Regions from separate parts of the Homo sapiens genome. Here all the other regions are linked to region 2. Evidence: promoter capture Hi-C in 16 types of primary human blood cells and fetal thymus (Javierre and others, 2016). All regions are on one chromosome and are shown on one strand. The core of a region is centred on a gene start or on the middle of the fragment in contact, and the rest is flanking DNA. Distances in the headings are between cores, read along the strand shown. Region 1 has its middle 47 kb from the start of MIR466. Region 2 holds the start of STT3B (STT3 oligosaccharyltransferase complex catalytic subunit B). Region 3 has its middle 63 kb from the start of MIR466.

Region 1 (2,700 bases), core at 99-2,598, 320 kb before region 2:
TAGATGTGCTATAATTTGTTCAACCAATTACCCACTGACACATGTTTGGATTGTTTCCAGCCTTGAGCTGTATCAAATAAAGCTGCTATGAACATTAATGTAGATTTGTGTATGATTATAACTTTGCATTTGTCTGGGATAAATGTCCAAAAGTGTAATTTCTGGGTTGTATGTTAGGTCTATATTAGTTTTATAAGAAGATGCCAAATAATTTTCTAGAGTGACTATACCATTTTACATTATCACAGCAATACATGAGTTTCTCTACGCCTTTCCCTAATAAATGTGTAGCTATATCTTATTGTGAATTTAATTTGCATTGCATTTCCTGGATGTGTAACAATGCTGAACGTCTTTTTCACATGCTTATTTCCCATCTGTATATTCTTGTTAGTGAAATATATGTTCATGCATTTTTCCCATTATCAAATTGGATTCTTTGTTCAATTTTTATTGTTGAGTTTTAAGAGCTCTTTATATGTTCTAGGTATGTCTTTTGTCAACTATGTGGGTTGCAAATATTTTCTCCCAGTCTATAGCTTGTTTTTTCATCTCCCTAACAGAGTCTTTGCAGAGCAAAAGTTTTTAGTTTTGGTGAAGCTCTTTTTATCACTTTTTTCTTTAATGAATCATGTTTTTGCTAACTGGTCTAAGAATGCTTTGCTAGCCTTAGGTTTTCAAGAGTTTCTTCTTTTTTTTTTCTAGAAGTTTTATAGTTTTACATGTTACATGTAAACCTATGGTCCACTTTGAGTTAATTTTTGTATAAGGTATGAGGTTTAGATTGAGGTTCTTTTTTTCCTATTGTTAGCCCATGAATGTCCAATTGCTCCAACACCTCTTGTTGAAAACACCATTTTTCCCCCACTGAATTGTTATTGCACCTTTGTTGATGCTATGGTTTGGCTGTGTCCCCACCCAAATCTCATCTTGAATTGTAGTTCCCGTAATACCCACATGTCACTGGAGGGACCCGGTGGGAGGCAGTTGAATCATGGGGCAGGTTTTTCCCACACTGTTCTCGTGATAGTGAATAAGTCTCACAAGATCTGATGGTTTTATAAAGGGCAGTTCCCTTGCATATGCTCCCTTGCCTGCCACCATGTAAGACACGCCTTTGCTCCTCCTTTGCCTTCTGCCATGACTGTGAGGCCTCCCCAGCCATGTGGAACTGTGAGTTCATTAAACCTCTTTTTCTTTATAAATTACCCAGTCTTGGGTATGTCTGTATTAGCAGTGTGAGAATAGACTAATATAGTCAAAAAATCAGTCATCTATAAGGGTCTATATCTGTGTTCTCTATTCTGTTCCCTTGATCTACCTGTCTGTCCCTCCACAAACACTACATTTGTCTTGATTACTATAGCTACATAGTAAGCATTAATATGAGGTAATTTTCTCCCATTAGTTATTCTTTTAAAAAATATTTCAGCTTTCTAGGTGCTGTGCATTTCCATGTAAATTTTAAAATAAACTTGCCTATGTTTATTAAAAACTATGCTGAGCTAGATATCCACAAGCAAAAGAATGAAGTTCCAACCTTTCCTAACAGTATATACAAAAATTAATTCAAAATGAATCAAATACCTTAGGTAGGACCTAAATCTATAAAACCTTTAGAAGAAAGCATAGAGCAAAGTTTTATGACATTTGATTTAGCAATGACTTCTTGGATATGACATCCAAGAGACAGGCAACAAAAGAAAAAATAAACAAACTGGAGTCTATTAAACATATCTTTTTATTGTGCATTGAAAGACACTATCAACAAGGTAAAAAAAAAAAAAGGCAACTCACAGAATGAGAAAAAATACTTACAAATCATATATCCGATAAGGGATTAATATTCAAAACATATACAGAATTCCCCAAATCAGCCACAACCATAAAAAACCCTCAATTTTTAAAATAGGAAAAAGACATCAGTGGATATTTCTCCAAAGACTATTATACAAATAACCAATAAATATTTAAAAGATGCTCAACGTCACTAATCATTAGAGAAATGCAAATATAATAAAATCTCACCTCACATCCATTAGGATGGCTACTCTCAAAAAAACAGAAAATAATAAGTGTTGTCAGAGTGGAGAAATTGGAACCCTTATGCACTGGTGGTGGGACTATAAAATGATACAGTCCCTATGGAAAAGATTACAGCAGTTCCTCAAAAACAAAAACAAAAACAAAAAAAATAGTATTACCATATGGCCCAGCAATTCCACTTTTGGGTATGTACCCAAAAGAATTTAAAGCAGAGTCTCCAGTAGATATTTGAACATCCATGTCCATGCAGCTAAATGTGGAAGCAATCCAGTTTTCACCAACCAATGAATGAATAAGCAAAATGTGGTGTATACATGTAATGGAATATTATTCAACCATAAAAAGGATGAACCTACAACATGGATGAACCGTAAGGATATTATGCTAAGTGAAGCAAGCCAATCACAAAAAGACAGATACTATATGCTCCCATTTACATGAGGTACTTAGAGTTGTCAAACTCATAGAAACAGAAAGTAGAATGATGATTGCCAGGGACTGGGGAAGAGCAAGAATAGGAAGTTTTGTTTTTGTTTTTATACTTTAAGTTCTGTGTTACATGGGCAGAACATGCAGTTTTGTTGCATAGGTATACATGTGCCCTGGTGGTTTGCTGCACCCATCAACCGGTCACTTACACTAAGTGGTTCTCCT
Region 2 (3,025 bases), core at 97-2,596:
TCTGGTAGCACTTTATTTTAGCGGACAAGGAGGGAAGTGGGGAAAGGAAAGGAATTATAAAAATACAAGGTAGACGTGCACAAGAACCTTCGTTCTATTATTATTTAGTAAAGTGAGAACTGGAAACAGCTTAACGTCCAGGGTAAGTTAGTTTCACTCACTCGACGGAATGTATGCAGCCGTTAATGTATTTCTGCATTTTCCCATATTTCCAGTGAACATACAGTACTTTCGCAATTCGGAGTACAAACGAAAAAGGGCGAGAGAAGGTCGCATTTTGCCTGCCGGAGCTAGGGGCGCGCTTGCCGGTTCCAACGAGTTTTCGGTGTCGGAAAACTTGTCTTTGCTCACATTCTCGGATTCCCGCGGCCGCAGAAGCCGGAGGCGGGACGTGAAGGGCAATGAGCAAGGTAGGCTGTGTCACTGCCGCCGCGGGCTCACTCGCAGCGCCAGCCGAGGAGCGCCACGGGCTGCTGAACCCCTCGGCCCGACCCACGCGCCGAGGGCTAGGATAATGCGCCTGCGCGGCCGTCACGTGGTGAGGGCTCCGCGCAAAGCGGGTTAAAAGTCACGACCGCGGAGAGCCCGCGAGCGTCCTGCTGGTCGGTGCGGCGCTTTCCGCGTCCTTTAAGACGAGTTTGACCGAGGCCGCTCCGCAGTTCCCGCCCCTCGGCCCAGCTCAGCTCCATGAACCTAGCGGAGCCGCCTAGTACCCTTTCTCGCCGACCGCACAGGCGCGCGAAACCGCGTCTTTCAACTGACAATGAAGCCGTAGCCGCGCAGCTCGGCCACTCCGGGCGAATCGGCGCGAGGCCGGGATGGTGGGGGGGAGGGGGAGACGGTTGGGTCAAGCTCCGCCCCAGCTCGCGCCCCTATTGGTGGGCGCAGCGGTTCTGGGCCCGCCCCCTAACGGACCTGTCGCTTTGTGACAGGCGGAGGGGCCAGTTCCTGTCGGGCCGGAGGCGGAGTCAGAGGTTGCTTGAGCTCCGCCCGGACTCCAGGGGGCTCCTCCCCCTGCTCCTTTCGGCTGGGCGGGCGGCGGGCTAGAGAGGGAATGTCATTGCTTCTCAGAGCCGTGGTGCCGCCTCCGTCTGCTGCTTCTTTCCTGGCGCCCTCGTCCCGTCGGCTTTCGCCGCCGCCGCCGCAGCTGCACTGGGGATACGGATGGCTAGTGGGGCGCCGGGGCCATCTGGGTTGAGAGAGCGGCGATTGCGGCCGCTGCTGAGGCGGAGACTCCCCGCCGCCGCTTCCTCCACCCCCAGTCCGCCGGCCTCGCGGCGCTGAGGGCGGGAGCGCGCAGAGCTCTTCCCTCCTCCTTTTTCTTCCTCCTCCTCCTCCTCCTCCGGGTCCCCGCCCAGCACCCCTCGCACCAGGCGGCGGCGGCGGAGGAGGAGAGCTAGACCCGCCGCCGGGGCACAACATGGCGGAGCCCTCGGCCCCGGAGAGCAAGCACAAGTCGTCCCTCAACTCGTCCCCGTGGAGTGGCCTCATGGCCCTGGGAAACAGCCGGCACGGCCACCACGGGCCCGGGGCCCAGTGCGCGCACAAGGCGGCGGGCGGCGCGGCGCCGCCGAAGCCGGCCCCGGCGGGGCTGTCCGGGGGGCTGTCGCAGCCGGCTGGGTGGCAGTCGCTTCTCTCCTTCACCATCCTCTTCCTGGCCTGGCTTGCCGGCTTCAGCTCGCGCCTCTTCGCCGTCATCCGCTTCGAAAGCATCATCCACGAGTTCGACCCGTGGTAAGTGCCTCGCCGCCCCTCCCCCGCCCGTGGCCCGCGGGGAACCGGGACCCGCTCCTCCGCCCGCCGCAGCTCTCCTCGACTTGGCCCCGCGCCGCCGCGGAGCCCCGCTCGCGTCCTGGCTGAGGCCGGCGCGGATCCCGGAGCTCCGGGCGCGCCCCCTGCCCGTGGGCGAAGTTTGCCCCGTGCAGCCTGAGGCGGGGCGTCGGGGTCCAGGAGCGAAACCTTGATTCTCGGCCGGGCTAGTGTGAAGACTGCCAGGAGTGTGGATGCAGCCGCCGGGAGTGTGGGTGCAGCCGCCGGGAGTGTGGGTGCAGTCCCTCGCAGCCCGCTTTGGTCGCTGAGTCCGGACCCGCCACGCCAGGAGGCGGCAGGTAGCTCCTCCGCGGACTGTCGGTCGATTCCCCGCCCTCCTCGCCCGCTGCTTTCGCGTTCTTTCATATTTGCGGGCGCGTTTTTGCTAGTTCAGACGGAATCGGCCAGGGGGGCTGCCCTGTTGCCGCTGGAGGTGGGTCCAGATGTGCCGGAACCCCGGCTGCTCACCCTTGCAGTTTTACGCTTTTACTGTTTCTTTTTATGCTCTCATGATACGAGAAGGGAAAAGGAGAGTGAATGGCGTGTTGGAGGGAAGGAAATAATACCCCTGAAAGTGATCTGAAAGCTAGCTACTCTTATTTATTTATCATTAGGTATTTTAAAGAGTGGCTTTTTTTCAGAGCTCTTAAGTGCACTCAGCACCTTACTGTTTCACTATCGTCTTGGGTTGCTTTTTAGAACAAGATCCTTACCCTGTTAGCCACTGTCACCCTTAGTGTGTTATGCACAGTATCTGAAAGCATTGCATTAGTTCCTTTATTGGTCTGCAGGAAGGTTTGTGGATAAGAGCAAACAGTACCACGGTGATGGGAGTCCTAGATTGTAATACCGAAGTTGCACATGGTGTAAGGGACTGACCTGAATGTTTTAGGAAATTACCCCACTCTTAACAACACTAGCTAACTTAGACACTACATTGGTCTGTGAATTATCTAGATGGAAAGATTGCTTTAACTTTTTTTTCGCAACTTGCCCAACCCGAGTTAGGATTTTTCCCCCTGAGTTAGGATTTTCCCCTCTGAGAGTATGCCTTTTAAACTAGTGTTATCTTATTGACCTGTCAACCTTGAGTTAATCTTACTTCCTCACAGTTAGACCTAATTAAATTTCAGGATATTTGTTTCATCATTTGAGATTCAAAGAGAGAGAGTCTTTTTTGAGAGTTACTAACTATATAGATAATAAGTGTTCGGGT
Region 3 (2,722 bases), core at 15-2,514, 310 kb before region 2:
GAAATGACCATATTATCAGGGATAAGTTCTCAGCAATGTCATGGAGAAATCTGTTCAAAAGGTCTTTTCAGGGCCCTGCAGGGTTGCAAGTGTCTCTGAACAACTAGCAGGAGGAAAACAATAACCAATTCCCATTTCCCCACTCCCAGCCCATCGCTCAGACTCAGAGACCTCTGTTTTCTCAAGCCCTATCAAGGATTAGAGAGGTCCAGAGAAGGACAAGAAAATATCCAGGGGTTTCCAGTAGGAGAAAAGGCAATTTCAGAACATTCAGGGAAGGAGATTGTTTGAGCTAAAGAAAAAAAAATAAAATAAAAAATAAAAAATAAATAAATAAATAAATAAATAAATAAATAAATAAATGAAATTGAGAAATGTAACCAAAGGGTGGGATAAAATCCAAATTGGTAGCCAGAAAGTAGGTGAGCTGTGGAAATGAACAGAATCATGATGCGTAAGTATTAAAATGGACCCAAAGTGGCATAGTCACTTTGTCTCTGAAAGCCACTCCACTACGTCCCATTTTAGGCAGAGAGGTTAAAAAGAAAGTCTGGGGGTGGCTCTGTGCTTTGGAATTAAAACAGCATCTGCGATATTATTAGCTGGGCCAAGATATGCAGAAGCTATCAATCTTTCTGCTTGGGGGAATAATTGATTGCCAAAGCGGCCCAGACAAGCTGCTTCTCCCTCCCTGAGGTCTGGCCCTGAGTTCAGCACAATTAACTAAGTGCTTCTGTGCTGGAGAAGGCTGGGAGCACAGTTGGCTCCCTCTTAAGCATGAGGTGCTTAAGGAAGGAGAACTCGGCTTTATACCTGTCCCCAACTGGGACGAACACCATCCACTGATATTTCTTGTGAGTGGAAACACTGAGGGGTGGGACTGGGCTCTTCTTTAGGATTTGGGAGACTGGTGAAGCTTATAAGCACCTTCCCTGAACAATGTTTTTATGAATATAAAATAAATACTAAGGATAACAAAAGAATACAGCTAACAAGATATTTAAAAAAAAATTGGTGATGTACTGATAGTTGTGTGTCTTTATTAAACGTTAATAAGATATAGTGGTGGGTGCAATAACTTAGACTTATGGAAGTAATGAATATTTCAAAATATCTACAATAGCTGTGTGGTATGAAAATATCTGTATAATATGTGCTGAAACTGCTAATTCTTTTTTTTTTTTTTTTTTGAGATAGAGTCTCACTCAGCTGCCCAGGCTAGAGTACAGTGGTGCAATCTCTGCTCAGTGCAACCTCCGCCTCCCAGACTCAAGTGATTCTCCTGCCTCAGCCTCTCAAGTAGCTGGAATTACAGGCACGCATCTACCACACTCGGCTAACCTTTTGTATTTTTAGTAGAGATGGGGTTTTGCCAGGTTGGCCAAGCTGGTCTGGAATGCCTGACCTCAGGTGATCCACCCACCTCGGCCTAACAAAGTGCTGGGATTACAGGTGTGAGCCACTGTGCCCGGCCTGGAACTGTTTTATGGTGGGTTTCTCACCTACATTTATCACAGAAAGAAGTGCTAAGTTTCATTCGGATGTTCGTGAAAATAAATAATTTTTTAATCCAAGTTTATAGATCCCGGACTTCTCTCCATGTGCCTCAGGTTAAGCTTTAAAGGTGTGTGGGATGGGAATTCCTTGCATACTAAGGAAAAGAAGTGCCAGGAGCCTGGGCCTTGTGTGGGGTCAGGAGTGAGAAGGGTGCCCCAGGCCATTCTTGGGGCCCAGGATGCTTGGAGGGTAACACACTCATTGGAAAGAAGTAACACTGCACTGGAAGTAAATTGTAATTTAAAATGACAATGACCCTCTCCCATCAGAGTGAGCTCTACATGAAAATACACATTCACCTTTTTTAATTTAACTGGGCTAGCAGCAAATCCCTCAAACTGCTGGCCTTGAAAGTCCTGAAATCTGGAATGAAGGGAAAGAATTATAGACAGACAGTAACTCCTTTCAGCTCCAAATCCATCCAAATTAATTGTTGTTCATCCCTCTTCCCTGCTGCCACACAGAAACAGACTGCACCACTTCCCCCTCTTTTCCTTGGTTCTTCCTCATCCCATTAGCGTTCTCATATGGGGGTTTGGAATAGATGGCTACTGAGTCCATAGAGCTCACTAACTACGTTGTGAACAATCTAGGACTTTGGGATGGTTTTACTCAGTGACATGATCAGGTTTGTATTTCAGGACAATCACTCTGGCTTTAAGACAGAGAATATGACTCCAAGCCAACCACCATATACCATCTCAGGGCCAACATCCTTGTCCAAGTCACCACCCACTCTTGCCTGGGTTGTTGGAGTAGCTGGTTAACTGGTTCATCTTGTCCTTTCCTGCTGGCCAATTCTAGCCTGCACCTGCTTTTGTATGGTCTGTGAGCTAAAATAACTTGTGGAAATTTGTTTTCCCTCTTGTTATATAAATACCTTCATAATTAGTACCTCGATTTTGCTTCCTGGCCCACAAAGCCTAAAATATTTACTATCTGACCCTTTATAGAAAAAGTTCGCTAACCTCTGCCATGGCATATCAGTCCGATCCAGCCAGGAAACCAGGAACCGTTTGCTCCACTCACATGGGGGGAATTTTACTAGAGAATGGTTTAGCCAAGGGTTATAATAACTGAGGAGACAAACAGAACACAGTGAGGCAGCACAGAGATTAACAACTGCAGGAAGCTGCTACCATCCTGCAGTTGGAGGAATATGGGA

Evidence for each region. The method cuts DNA at HindIII sites, captures the fragments that hold promoters and counts their contacts. A CHiCAGO score of 5 or more calls a contact.
Region 1: a contact is called between a fragment that was not itself captured here and the fragment with the promoter of STT3B in region 2, in 4 of 17 cell types (fetal thymus, non-activated CD4 T cells, naive CD4 T cells and 1 more). The highest score is 8.0, in fetal thymus.
Region 3: a contact is called between a fragment that was not itself captured here and the fragment with the promoter of STT3B in region 2, in 8 of 17 cell types (non-activated CD4 T cells, fetal thymus, naive CD4 T cells and 5 more). The highest score is 9.7, in non-activated CD4 T cells.

The regions. Positions count from the first base shown.
Region 1 is chr3:31,207,137-31,209,836 of GRCh38, forward strand. No RefSeq gene overlaps it. Among named protein-coding and RNA genes, the nearest start is that of MIR466, 47 kb to the left of the region's middle. The HindIII fragment of the contact is 4,070 bases long and covers 1-2,700 here.
Region 2 is chr3:31,531,579-31,534,603 of GRCh38, forward strand. STT3B (STT3 oligosaccharyltransferase complex catalytic subunit B) reads left to right here and starts at 1,347. Exons shown (of 16, transcript NM_178862.3): 1 at 1,347-1,734. The coding sequence starts at 1,421. RefSeq lists silencers at 670-929, 1,240-1,469, 1,500-1,629, 1,710-1,859 and enhancers at 1,030-1,169, 2,020-2,079. The HindIII fragment of the contact is 5,534 bases long and covers 1-3,025 here.
Region 3 is chr3:31,223,798-31,226,519 of GRCh38, forward strand. No RefSeq gene overlaps it. Among named protein-coding and RNA genes, the nearest start is that of MIR466, 63 kb to the left of the region's middle. The HindIII fragment of the contact is 700 bases long and covers 915-1,614 here.